Linked DNA regions of Homo sapiens: region 1 is linked to region 2. Evidence: promoter capture Hi-C in 16 types of primary human blood cells and fetal thymus (Javierre and others, 2016). All regions are on one chromosome and are shown on one strand. The core of a region is centred on a gene start or on the middle of the fragment in contact, and the rest is flanking DNA. Distances in the headings are between cores, read along the strand shown.

The links. Contacts are between HindIII fragments. The CHiCAGO score rates a contact against its expected background, and 5 or more counts as called.
Region 1: a fragment that was not itself captured here is called in contact with the fragment with the promoter of MAPRE3-AS1 in region 2 in 1 of 17 cell types (endothelial precursors); the score reaches 5.9 in endothelial precursors.

What each region holds. Positions count from the first base shown.
Region 1 is chr2:26,794,972-26,800,754 of GRCh38, forward strand. No RefSeq gene overlaps it. Among named protein-coding and RNA genes, the nearest start is that of CENPA, 12 kb to the left of the region's middle. The HindIII fragment of the contact is 3,696 bases long and covers 1-3,107 here.
Region 2 is chr2:27,010,996-27,017,361 of GRCh38, forward strand. MAPRE3-AS1 (MAPRE3 antisense RNA 1) reads right to left here and starts at 3,593. Exons shown (of 6, transcript NR_149018.1): 1 at 3,506-3,593. The region is part of intron 1 of MAPRE3 (microtubule associated protein RP/EB family member 3); the gene reads left to right. The HindIII fragment of the contact is 5,889 bases long and covers 1,792-6,366 here.

The DNA of each region.
Region 1 (5,783 bases), core at 10-2,509, 220 kb before region 2:
CCTGAGTGGACACAGCACATGTTTCAGAGAGCACAGGGTTGGGGGTAAGGTCACAGATCAACAGGATCCCAAGGCAGAAGAATTTTTCTTAGTACAGAACAAAATGAAAAGTTTCCCATGTCTACTTCTTTCTACACAGACACGGCAACCATCCGATTTCTCAATCTTTCCCCCACCTTTCCCCCCTTTCTATTCCACAAAACCGCCATTGTCATCATGGCCCGTTCTCAGTGAGCTGTTGGGTACACCTCCCAGATGGGGTGGTGGCTGGGCAGAGGGGCTCCTCACTTCCCAGAAGGGGTGGCCGGGCAGGGGCGCCCCTCACCTCCCGGACGGGGCGGCTGGCCGGGCGGGGGGCTGACCCCTCCTCCTCCCTCCCGGAGGGGGCGGCTGGCCGGGCAGAGGGGCTCCTCACTTCCCAGTAGGGGCGGCCGGGCAGAGGCACCCCTCACCTCCCGGACGGGGCGAACAGCCACAATTTAAACAAGATAATTAAGGGAGGTGGTTTTGCCTCTGGTGGAGTAGAGTATGACTAGATGAAAACCTTGCCCTTCTGTTGTAACTGAAAGCAATTTAAAAGATTTCCAGAGACATGGGAAGTGTCACCCAAAGATATGAGATCTGTATGTGATGAAAATGATTAGTGAGGGCAGACTACTAATAATGATGTGTCAGTCAACTGAGTTCAGAGACAGATTAAAGAGATGCACCAAGTTCTATTGTTTAATAATTTTTTTTTTCCCGAGACTCTGTCTGTCGCCCAGGCTGGAGTGCAGTAGTGCCATCTCAGCTCACTGCAAGCTCCGCCTCCTGGGTTCAAATGATTCTCCTGTCTCAGCCTCCCTAGTAGCTGGGATTACAGGCATCCACCATCATGCCTGGCTAATTTTTGTATTTTTGTAGAGACAGGGTTTCACCATGTTGGCCAGGCTGGTCTTGAACTCCTGACCTCAAGTGATCTGTGGGCCTCAGCCTCCCAAAGTGTTGGGATTACAGGCGTGAGCCACTGTGCCTGGCTGGGTTTTTGTTTTATGTATTTTTTTATTATTATTTTTTTAATTTTTAATTTAATTTTATTTTTTGTAGGGGCAAGGCTTTGCCGTGTTGCCTAAGCTGGTTTCGAACTCCTGAACTCAAGCAATCTGCTTGACTCAGTCTCCCAGAGTGCTGGGATTACAGGTGTGAGCCACCAGGCCTGGCCATATTTATTTTTGAGAGAAAGGGGGGTCTCGCTCTGTCACCCAGGCTGGAATGCAGTGGAGCAATCATAGCTCGTTGCAGCCTCAAACTCCTGGGCTCAAGCAATCCTCCCACCTCGCCCTCCCAAGTATCTTGAACTATAGATGCTCGCCACCACGCCCCTGTTTTATTTTTTTATTTTGTTTTTCCCTACTTTCAGGGTGATTTCATCAACATTCTTTTCTAACCTTTCAATTGAATTTTTTATTTCTGATTTCATGTTTTTAATATCCAATTAACTCCTTATTTTGGTAATGTTTCTTTTTTATAGTATTCCAATCAGTCAGCATTCACTTAAAAAAAAAAAACAGAAATAACTCCAGATATTTTAAGCAAAAAGGGATTTGGTGGAAGGGGTTGACTATAGTAATGTCAGGAAGGCTGGTTGAGCCAAAGAGAAGAGGATGCTGCCCAAAGATCAGGAAGCTCCCAGTGCCCACCCCCACTGCTGCTCTGCTGGAAGCATAGCCCTGCCACCATTGCATTGAACTGTACCACTGCCGCTGAGCAAAGTCAGGATCCCCAACTCTGACCATTGTATCATGCCCGGCTGGCTCTGCAATGTCATTTTGATGTGTCTTCAGTATGGATTTTTTTTTTTTTTTTTCTGAGTCAGAGTCTCGCTCTGTCACCGAGGCTGGAGTGCAGTGGTGCGATCTCCAACTTTTTCAGTTTTCTTTGATAGGAGAGTGGTCCCAATGACCTTTTCTACCATTACTGGAAGTTGAAGTTTGATGTGTCTCTTGATATTCCCATACTCATCATTACTTATTGCCATTAAAATAAAACAAAAATAACTTAAATGTATTCAACATCAAACATAACACATGCTGTCATATATAACAATCAAGACTCTCATTTGCAAGTTTGGGGACCCCAACTCAAACTGACTTAAGAGGAGAAGGTTCATATAACTGAAAAGCCCAGAGACATTTCTGGTTTCGCTACAGTCAAATCGAAGGGCTGTAACAAAGTCATGAGATTTGGTCTCTCTCTTCACCCTTTGCTGCTTCTGTTAGTGTCACTTTCAGGCAGGCCTTCAGAACCTGTAAATTTGGCATGTCACATGGCAAAGGGGAATTAAGAGTGCTAATCAGCTGACATTAAAATAGGGAGATTTAGAAGAAAAAAAGGACAAAGCAAAAAATGGGGAGAGTACCTTGGAATTTTGGGTGGGCCCAATGTAATCACAAGTGCCATTAAAAATGGAAGAGTGAGAGAGAAGTGTGTTAGAGATAGGAGTAGGAGAATGGTCAGGCAGATGCAACATTGCTGGCATTGAAGATGGAGGGAGAGATCACAGACTGACGAGTCTAGGTGGCTTCTAGCAGCGAAGAGGCAAGGAAGCGGATTTTCTTTTAGAAACTCCAGAGAAGAAAACAGGCCTGCCGATACCTTGATTTTTAGCCCAGCGAAACTTGTGTCAGACTTCTAAACTACAGAACTGTAAGAATAAATTTGTGTTTTATCTAAGCCACTGAGTTGTTGCTAATTTGTTACAGCAGCAATAGGAAACTAATACAAGTGGTTTCCCAAGGAAATTTGAGGCTTCTTAACAGGTAAGAGAGAATGTAGACAGGGCAGACAAAAATAACAGATGTCTACTATACCACATGTGGTGTTATGATAGACATTGGTTTTCGTCCACAGTTCCGGGCTCATAACTGCTATAGCCGTTGTTAGTTCTTTTGTTGTAATATTGGGTATGTGTTAGGCCTCAGGAAACAGAATCTCTCCTTCTCCTGCCCTCCTTTCACCTGCCCCAAGACAGGCCTCTAATCTTTCTCAGGCTTTCAGATTGTGGGTCTTAAGATCCTACCCAGAGAGGTTCCCTCTATACCCTGGGGGAAAGAATGCGGAGGTCCTGAAGCTTCCATAAAAACCCTTGAGGACGGTTCAGGGAGGTTCCCGATACCTGAACTCGGGGAGGTTCCTGGAGGGTGGCGCCCCCCACACCCCCCACCCCCCACGGAGGGCTTAGAAGCTCTGTGTGCATTCCCCATACCTCACCCCACGTGTCTCTTCATCTGTTTCCTTTTTTTATGTTTTTCATGCATTTTTTTTATTTTTTATTTTTCATTTTTTTTTTTTTTAGACAGAGTCTCACTCTGTCACCCAGGCTGGAGTGCAGTGGCGCGATCTTGGCTCACTGCAACCTCCGCCTCCCAGGTTCAAGCAATTCTCCTGCCTCAGCCTCCCAAGTAGCTGGGATTATAGGCGTGGGCCACTACACCCGGCTAATTTTTGTATTTTTAGTAGAGGCGGGGTTTCGCCATGTTGGCCAGGCTGGTCTTGAACTCCTGACCTCAGGTAATCCGCCTCAGCCTCCCAAAGTGCTGGGATTACAGGTGTGAGCCACCGCGCCCAGCCATCTGTATCCTTTGTAATATTTTTTGTAACAAACTGGTAAATGTGTTTCCCTGAGCTCTGTGAGCCACTCCACCAAATTAATCAAAGAGGGGGTCATGGGAACCCCAACTTGAAGCCAGTCCTAGAGGCCCAGACTTGTGACCGGTTTTGGTGGGTGGGCAGTCTTGGGGACTGAACCCTCAACGTGTGGGATCTGATGCCATCTCTGGGTAGACAGTGTCAGAAATGAATTAGAGGACACCCAGCTGGTGTCCACTGCTTGGTGTATGGGGAAATCACCTCCAACGTTTGGTCACAGAAATCTTCTGCATGGATGATTGTTGTGCTGTGAGAGTGAGGAAAAACATGGTTAGAGTTCTCCCTACATACCATATGACGCACTGTGTCACAATTACAAATTTTTAAAAGCCAGATGGCACCTACTTTTTTTTTTTTTTTTTGCCATTACTTTCAATGGCAACAACCGCAATTACTTTTGCACCAACCTAGTAATATACTTTGAGCAGCATTAGAGTTTTATTCTATTTTATATTCTTTGGATTTATTTTAATGCTGTTTACAGGAACTGAAAAGCTCCATTCTTTTTAAAAGATTTTCTAATTAAAGTATAACATACATACCAAAAACACAAATGTATACAGATTACAATTTTACAGCTCAATTAGTTTTCACAAACTGAAATCAATGCATCTCAGAATCCTGCCCCGTTCTAGTCAATACTTACTCTGCCAAGGATAATTGTTATCCTGTTGTTTTTTTATATAGACGGAGCTTTGCTCTTGTCGCCCAGGCTGGGTGGGGTGTGTGGCCCAGGCTGGGGTGCAGTGGCGCAATCTCGGCTCACTGCAACCTCTGCCTCCCGGGTTCAAGTGATTCTCCTGCCTCAGCCTCCTGAGTAGCCGAGATTACAGGCACCCACCACCACGTCTGGCTAATTTTTGTATTTTTAGTAGAGACGGGGTTTCACCATGTTGGCCAGGCTGGTCTCAAACTCCTGACCTCAGGTAATCTACCTGGTTCGGCCTCCCAAAGAGCTGGGATTACAGGCGTGAGCCACCACGCCCGGCCTATCCTGACTTTTAATACCATAGATTCATTTTGATTATTGTAGTAAGTGGAATTATAGAGCATATATTCTTTTGTGTTTTTCAGTCAACATGTTTGTGAAATTTATATTTTCTCATGTGTTTATGGTGTTAATTCTTACTGCTGCATAGGGTTTCATTGTGTGGATATGCCTAAATTTTTTTTTTTTTTTTTTAGTGAAAGCAAGTTTATTAAGAAAGTGAAAGAATAAAGCATAGCTACTCTGTAGGCAGAGCGGCCTATGCCTAAATTTGTATATTTCCATTCTATTGAACATTTGGATAGTTTCAAGTTTGGGGGTTACAAATATTGGCTACTGACTTTTGCCTCAAAAACAAAAAAAAAAGAGACTTGGAGATGCATTTTTTTGGGGGGTTTGTTTGTTTGAGACAGGATCTTACTCTGTCACCCACGCTAGAGGGCATTGGTGTGATCACAGTTCACTGCATCCTCGACCTCCCCAGGCTCAGGTGATCTTCCCACCTCAGCTTCCCGAGTAGCTGGGAATATAGGAGCACACCACCACACCTGGCTAATTTTTTTTTTTTTTTTTTTTTTTAGACAGAGTCTCACTCTGTCACCAGGCTGGAGTGCAGTGGCGCGATCTTGGCTCACTGCAACCTCCGCCTCTTAGGTTCAAGCAATTCTCATGCCTTAGCCTCCCAAATAGCTGGGATTACAGGCACACGCCACCACACCCAGCTAATTTTTGTATTTTTAGTAGAGACGGGATTTCACCATGTTGGCCAGAATGGTCTTGATCTCCTGACCTCATGATCTGCCCGCCTCGACCTCCCAAAGTGCTGGGATTACAGGCGTGAGCCACTGTGCCTAGCCATTTTTGTATTTATTTTAGTGGAGATGGGTTTTCTCCATGTTGCTCAGACTGGTCTCAAACTCCTGGGCTCAAGTGATCCACTCTCCTCAGCCTCCCACAGTGCTGGGATTTCAGGTGTGAGCCATTGCACCCAGCCTGAGAGGCAGTTCTTTGTAAAGTTTTTATAAATGTTCTGAATGTGTGAAGGAAATTAATTTCCAATGCACAAATATATATATATATTTGTGTATATATTTAAATATATATATTT
Region 2 (6,366 bases), core at 2,343-4,842:
GACCATATCGCCACCTCTGGTCTGGTAGCTTCATTAAACAGGGCAGATGACCTCCTCTTTGAAAGTGGGCCCTCCCTTGGCTCCTAAGACATCACCTTCTCTCCACCTCCTCTATTTTCATCGCGTCCCTAACATTCCTCCAGGACTGAGTCATTGGTCTTATGCTCTTTTTTTAAAATAAAAGTAATAATAAATATGTTTCCCATGTCCAGAATTTCCCATTTTCTCCTCGCTGCTTTCTGGCATCCTGTCATCTTTAAAGGCCCAATTAGGTGCCACCTTCCTCCAGAAACCCTCTAACTGCTGATCCCCCTCTCATCTTTTTCATGTGCCTGGAACACTTAAAAGCCAAAGGTGCTTTCACTATTTAGCACTTCATATATTCTGCTTTGTGGCGTCCCTTGTTATTTTATAAATTACTCTTACCTCTTCAACCAAAGAAAAGCTCCTTAATAAAGACAAGACCCATGCCTTGAAATGATCCCATGTCCTCATGATGCCTCACTGGGTGTTGAGCATTTTGTCAGTGGTCAGTAAGCACTTGCTGGTCGAGATTAAGGCAATGCTAGGCCGGACCTGGTGGCTCATGCCTGTAATCCTAGCACTTTGGGAGGCTGAGGCAGGTGGATCACTTGAGGTCAGGAGTTCAAGACCAGCCTGGCCAATACGGTGAAACCTCATCTCTACTAAAAATACAAAAATTAGCTGGGTGTGGTGGCACACACCTGTAATCCCAGCTATTCGGGAGGCTGAGGCAGGAGGATTGCTTGAACCAGGGAGGTATAGGTTGCAGTGAGCTGAGATCATGCCATTGTACTCCAGCCTGGGCAACAAAGCGAGACTCCATCTCAAAAAAAAAAAAAAAAAAAGAAAGAGAGAGGTTAAGGCAATGCTGCAATGTCTTGAAAAAATAAGTATAAAGAAGAAAACTGGGCCAGGCATGGTGGCTCATGCCTGTAATCCCAACACTTTGGGAGGCCGAGGCAGGCAGATCACAAGGTAAAAAGTTTGAGACCAGCCTGGCCAATATGGTGGCCCCATCTCTACTAAGAATACAAAAATTAGCCAAGCATGGTGATGGACGCCTGTAATCCCAGCTACTCGGGAGGCTGAGGCAGGAGAATTGCTTGAACCTGGGAGGTGGAGGTTGCAGTGAGCCGAGATCATGCCACTGCACTCCAGCCTGGGTGACAGAGCAAGACTCCATCTCAAAAAAAAAAAAAAGAAGAAGAAGAAGAAATCCTCTGAAATTCCCTTTCCCTCCTCCTAATTCTCAAGGGGTGAAATCTGGGCAAGTCATCCTGCTCTAGAGCTGTGAAAAATCAAATCGTCCTTCCTGCACCAGTGTGGTGGTGTGGAAAGAGCATGGGATTTGTGTTCATTTGGCCAGGTTCAGCTCTGATCTTGCCAGTGGTTGATCTTGAACTTGGAAAAGTCACTGGAATCCTCATCCTTCATTTCCTCAAAAGCAAAATTGAGGTAACAACTCAAAGGCTTTCTGGAGCTGGATGCTGTAATCCACAAGAGTGGCATTTCTGGTGGGAATTTCGGGCACTATGGTAGGGCAGGAGAGAAGCTATCTGCAGGCCTTCTGGAAGCTCTCCAGTGCATGTCCCCACTGGGGTGGGGGCTGACTGTCTCCACGTGGGGTTAGTCCTGCAGAACAGGCAGGTAGAGTAGAGTCTGAGGGCATGAGGAAAGGCAGTCTACTGGAGAGGGCACAGAGAGTTCAACAAACACTGAAACTTAAGTTTGTCCTGGACATCTTCAGCATCCGACTTTCTGGTGGAAAGCTTAAAGTATAAATGACTGTGCCCTCTCAAAAGGGCACAGAAGTAAAACTGGGAGGATTTTGGGAGGGGACTGGATGTGGGGTGAAAGGTATGGTGAGAGCAGAGAAGAGGGGCCTGAGCCTGGGGTCAGGGGAAAGTAGGCTAAACAATTCACAGGATGCAGACATTTCAGAGAAGGGTGACACATCACTTGGCCCTGAACAACAACTATAAGCCAGACAGTCCAAAGAGACATAGTTCCAAAGGAACATAAAGTGACATGGCTTGTTATGTGTCCCCAGAGACATGGATGTGCTTTTGGAACTTGAAGGATAATTAAAAAAACATCAGACCCACCAGGGCTGCTGCAAACATGACAGTTCCCTTCCCAACACGTCATGGCAGCTGCTGCAGCTCCCTTCCCTCTATCCTGAGGCTAGCCACAGATGGGCCAGCAGCCCACCCCCAGAGCAGACCAAGCAGAGAGGTGCTCCCAGGAGTTACCAGGTTCCACTCTCGGAACCATCTTAAAATCCTGTTCTGGGAAATCCAGCAGCACCATGTTATATGCATTAGAGGGAGACTGTTTAAATCCCTTGCCAAGGTTCCCAAGGCTTCGTGCTGCATCTGTTTGCGTGTAGCCAGGGAGTGCAGCTAGCATTCTCCTCTCCTTGCTTCTCCATGTAGCCAGTGGCACCTCCTCAGGGTCAACAAACAAGAAATAAAAGCAGAAAACCACACTTTCTGAGTCCACCTGCCATCTGAACCCCCCAAACCCTAGTTTAACCTCTCCCATTCATTCATTCATTCATTCAATAAATATATAGGTACTGAGAAGCTATTGTGCACTGAGCCCTGAGCCAGTACTAATTGAGGGAAGAAATGGGCAACATAGCTTCAAAAGCACAGCTCTGTCTTTCTGCCTGAGGCAGCAGAGAGTGGATACCCAAGGCTGTCCCTACTCTCTCCCTGCTCAGGACCCTGATCAGAGGGTCTGTGGGAATTGGGTCAGGGTGCAGGAAAGAAGATGTTGAGTCAGATATGTCTATGTCAGTGATCTTGCCTATCAGTAAAGGTTGCTCAGCCCCCAAAGCAGCGTGATGGTGAACCTTTGGCTCCTGCCAGCGGTACTCATTATCCTTCCAACAGCCCCATGCTCAATCATACCATCATTCTGATGCTTCATGAGAACTGAGGCTTGGATATCTTCGCCTACTTGCTTGTGTCTCACAGGCAGCGAATGGCAAAGCCTGTAGCCAAGTCACACTGTCTGCCTTCTGCTGGGAGCCTTGGATTGATGGGTGACTCCATGGACATTTGTTGACCTAAAAAGTAGGTGTTTGAGGAACTGAAAGATCTCCAGCAAAGAACGTTTAGAAAGAAAATATTGCCTATCTGCCCACCTAGATGAACCCTACTGAAATGGATTGATTTTAGCGATGAGAAATTTTGTTTACTATACTGCAGGGTTTCCGTTAACCCTCGAAGTTATGGTCAGATAGGGTGACCTAGCCAGAACCTACCCCAAGGACTCCTTCCCTGGCTAGCAGCTACAGGGATGTGGCACCATTATCCCAACCAGCCTGGGGAGAGCCTTAGTAAGAGTTCAGATCATTATTCAGCAGGACATGTCCAGGATCCCAGTGGCTGGAACTTCAGCAGGGCTCAGGGTCTTAGAGTTGTGACCTAAAAGTGTTGTGAGAACAAAATCCTGGAGGAGTTTCAGTCCCTACCTGAACCCACAGCCGTCCAGATCCCTGTCCTGGATGTGTGGGAGGGGGCGCATGCTGGGCTCCAGGCCAACCCTGCAAATACTCCACTTGCCCCGTCTCTGCATTGATTAATCCAGCTTTGAGAGGCTGAGCCTCTCAATGAATCAGGTCCTTGCTCAGCCATAAGAAGAAGGTGATTGGCCAGGTCTGCCAGGGCTTTGTGACCCGCTGGCTTGCTCCCCAGCCCCTCAGAACCCCTCAGCCCCACCTGCACATACTGCCTCCATGCAAGCCCAGAATAACCTGGATGTGTGACTCACAGGGGTAGGGGTAGCAATTTTGCAGATTTTCCAAACAGGTGACTTCAGCCCCCGGGCCTGGGCAGGAAGGGGTAGCCCAGTGACAATGGGCATAGTCCCACTTCAGGAACGGGAAACGTGTTGGCTGGCTCTGTGGAGTTCTCTCTCTTCTGATCCCACAGCATCTGTTCCAGTTGTCTTGGCCGGTAGGATGGCGTCTACAAAGCAGGCTATATGGGAAATCTGGAGCTGGGGAGGGATTGTGGTCAGAGCCCAGCTTTGGGAAGCCCATGTGGCTGTCTCAAGGCAAAGCAGCAGAGAAAAGTTCTGTAGTCTGTCTCCTTTCTGGACTGGCATTTCCATGGTCTGAGACCAGAGGCTGGCTGTGTGTCAGGCACCTACTCCTCGAACAAATGCCCTTAGATTCTCACTGTCTGTCCCCGCGATGCTGACAGCACTTGCCAAATACATACTGAATGTCAGGCTCTGTGCTCAGCACTGTGTACACATGGCTCACTTAATCCTCATAACTGTTCTGTGAGGTGGGAGCTGTCACTGTCCTCACTTTATAGATGAGGACACTGAGACCTAAAGTCAAGTCAGACAGCTAGGACATGGTACAACTAGGATTTGAACCCACCTGATGTGCCTGGAGATCTAGTGTTCTTAAGCACTACCTTTCTGGAGCTTGCTGGAGGCATGCTGGCCACCTCCTTCAGGACTGGTAGACCTGGTGTGTCTTTCATAGCCACGCTGGGCAGAGGGTGGAGGCCTGGAAACTGCAGGGGGTTCTTCCAGGGACCAGCCAGAACAGGGCTAAACTTGGGGTAAAAAGAGCTCTAGAGAATTAGAGAAGACTGAGGGCCCCTAAATTACCCTTAAGACATATTTGTGGAAGACAGATTTAAAAACAAAAAGCCAAAATTAGATTTAGGCTGGTGATAAGGTCATTAAATAATAGAATGTGAAATTTCAGTTGTGCAGACTTATTGGCCATCTTTATGATTTAAGAATATAAGTGCCTAGATCTAAGTGCAGTCCTAATCGCCTGGGAAGGAAGCAGATGGTCTCTAGAAACCCTTCTGACCATGGGTTAGTGGGATTTGGTCTTGATGACCATTTTTAAGGCCTCAGTCTGCAGAATGACCAGCAGCTTCCCCTCCCGCAATGAGAGCTGTAATTGCCTTTCCCAGTTGCCTGTGAATGCACCATGAACCTTACAGTCCTAGTATAGGAAATGACTCAGCAAAATCACCAGATTAAACCTCCTCAACTTTTCTTTCCCTTGGCTCCATTCCTGATAGCAGGAGTCGAGGCCCTTCAGAGCAGGCTTTCCCCAAAGCCACGTTGTCGGTCTGATCCTCGAATGGGGATCCGCCTGGATGATGACATGCCACAATCCAATCAGGGTCTGTTTCTCCTGACAGTCACATGTGCCAAAGATCATGGTAGAAACATGTGGATGGGGTTGGAAGACACTGCTACTACATCTCTTGGGACAGAGCCTGCCCCCTCCGAGTGGCTACCTACCATTCTCTCCGGGGAGGTGAAGGAGCTCTTGGGAACAAGTGTGTTATTATTAAGAGTTTCGTCAGGTTATGTCTTTTTTTTTTTTTTTTTTTTTAAGATGGAGTGTCGCTCTTTTGCCCAGGCTGGAGTGCAGTGGCGCTATCTTGGCTCACTGCAAGCTCCGCCTCCCGGGTTCACGCCATTCTCCTGCCTCAGCCTCCTGAGTAGCTGGGACTACAAGTGCCCGCCACTGTGCCCGGCTAATTTTTTGTATTTTTAGTAGAGACGGGGTTTCACCGTGTTAGCCAAGATGGTCTGGATCTCCTGACCTCATGATCCGCCCACCTCGGCCTCCCAAAGTGCTGGGATTACAGGCGTGAGCCACCGCGCCTGGCAGGTTATGTCTTTGCTGTAATTGGAGGCAGCTGGTCCACTTAGACCCTGATGCTTGGGCAAATACTTTATACACCTCTGCCCCCAGCAGCTGGTCTGGTGTGAGTCCAGGCCCAAGTCAACCCCCAATGCAAAAGCCAATCAGAAGTTGGACCTCTTTGGTGAGTTCAAACTGTGGTTTTAGGGGATACGGAGGCTGGCTTAGTTCAGTCCAGGATCTTAGAACAGCCCCAATGCTCCAGGCCCCTCAGCCAGCCCAGCTTTTAGAGGCTCCCAATTTGAGCTCTAAACTGAGCTCTGGAAAGGGGGTTTGGGGGATGGGGGATACATTTAAAGGAGTTTTTGCTCAGGACCTGGGTGCCACCTGCTGGCCATGTTTAGTTCTACTTACAGAGCCAAAGCTACGAGAGGAAAATTAAAAGGGCATCCTGCCCTCCCCAATGTGATGTTTGCTCAAAGGAAACAAGGAGGCTGTTACTTCATGCTGCCCTAGCAGGTGCAGCAGAGAATTCCTGCAGAGACCCCTGGGTGCCCTGGATGAGTCCTCCTGAGCCAAATGGACCCCCATTAGGGCAGAGTGTAGCACCAGTTGTGAGGACCTGAGCGAGTCCTGAGTAGGGACTGAAGCTGTGTTCCTGCTACTAGCTACCTGCTTCCCCAGAAGCCCCATAGTGGGTAACA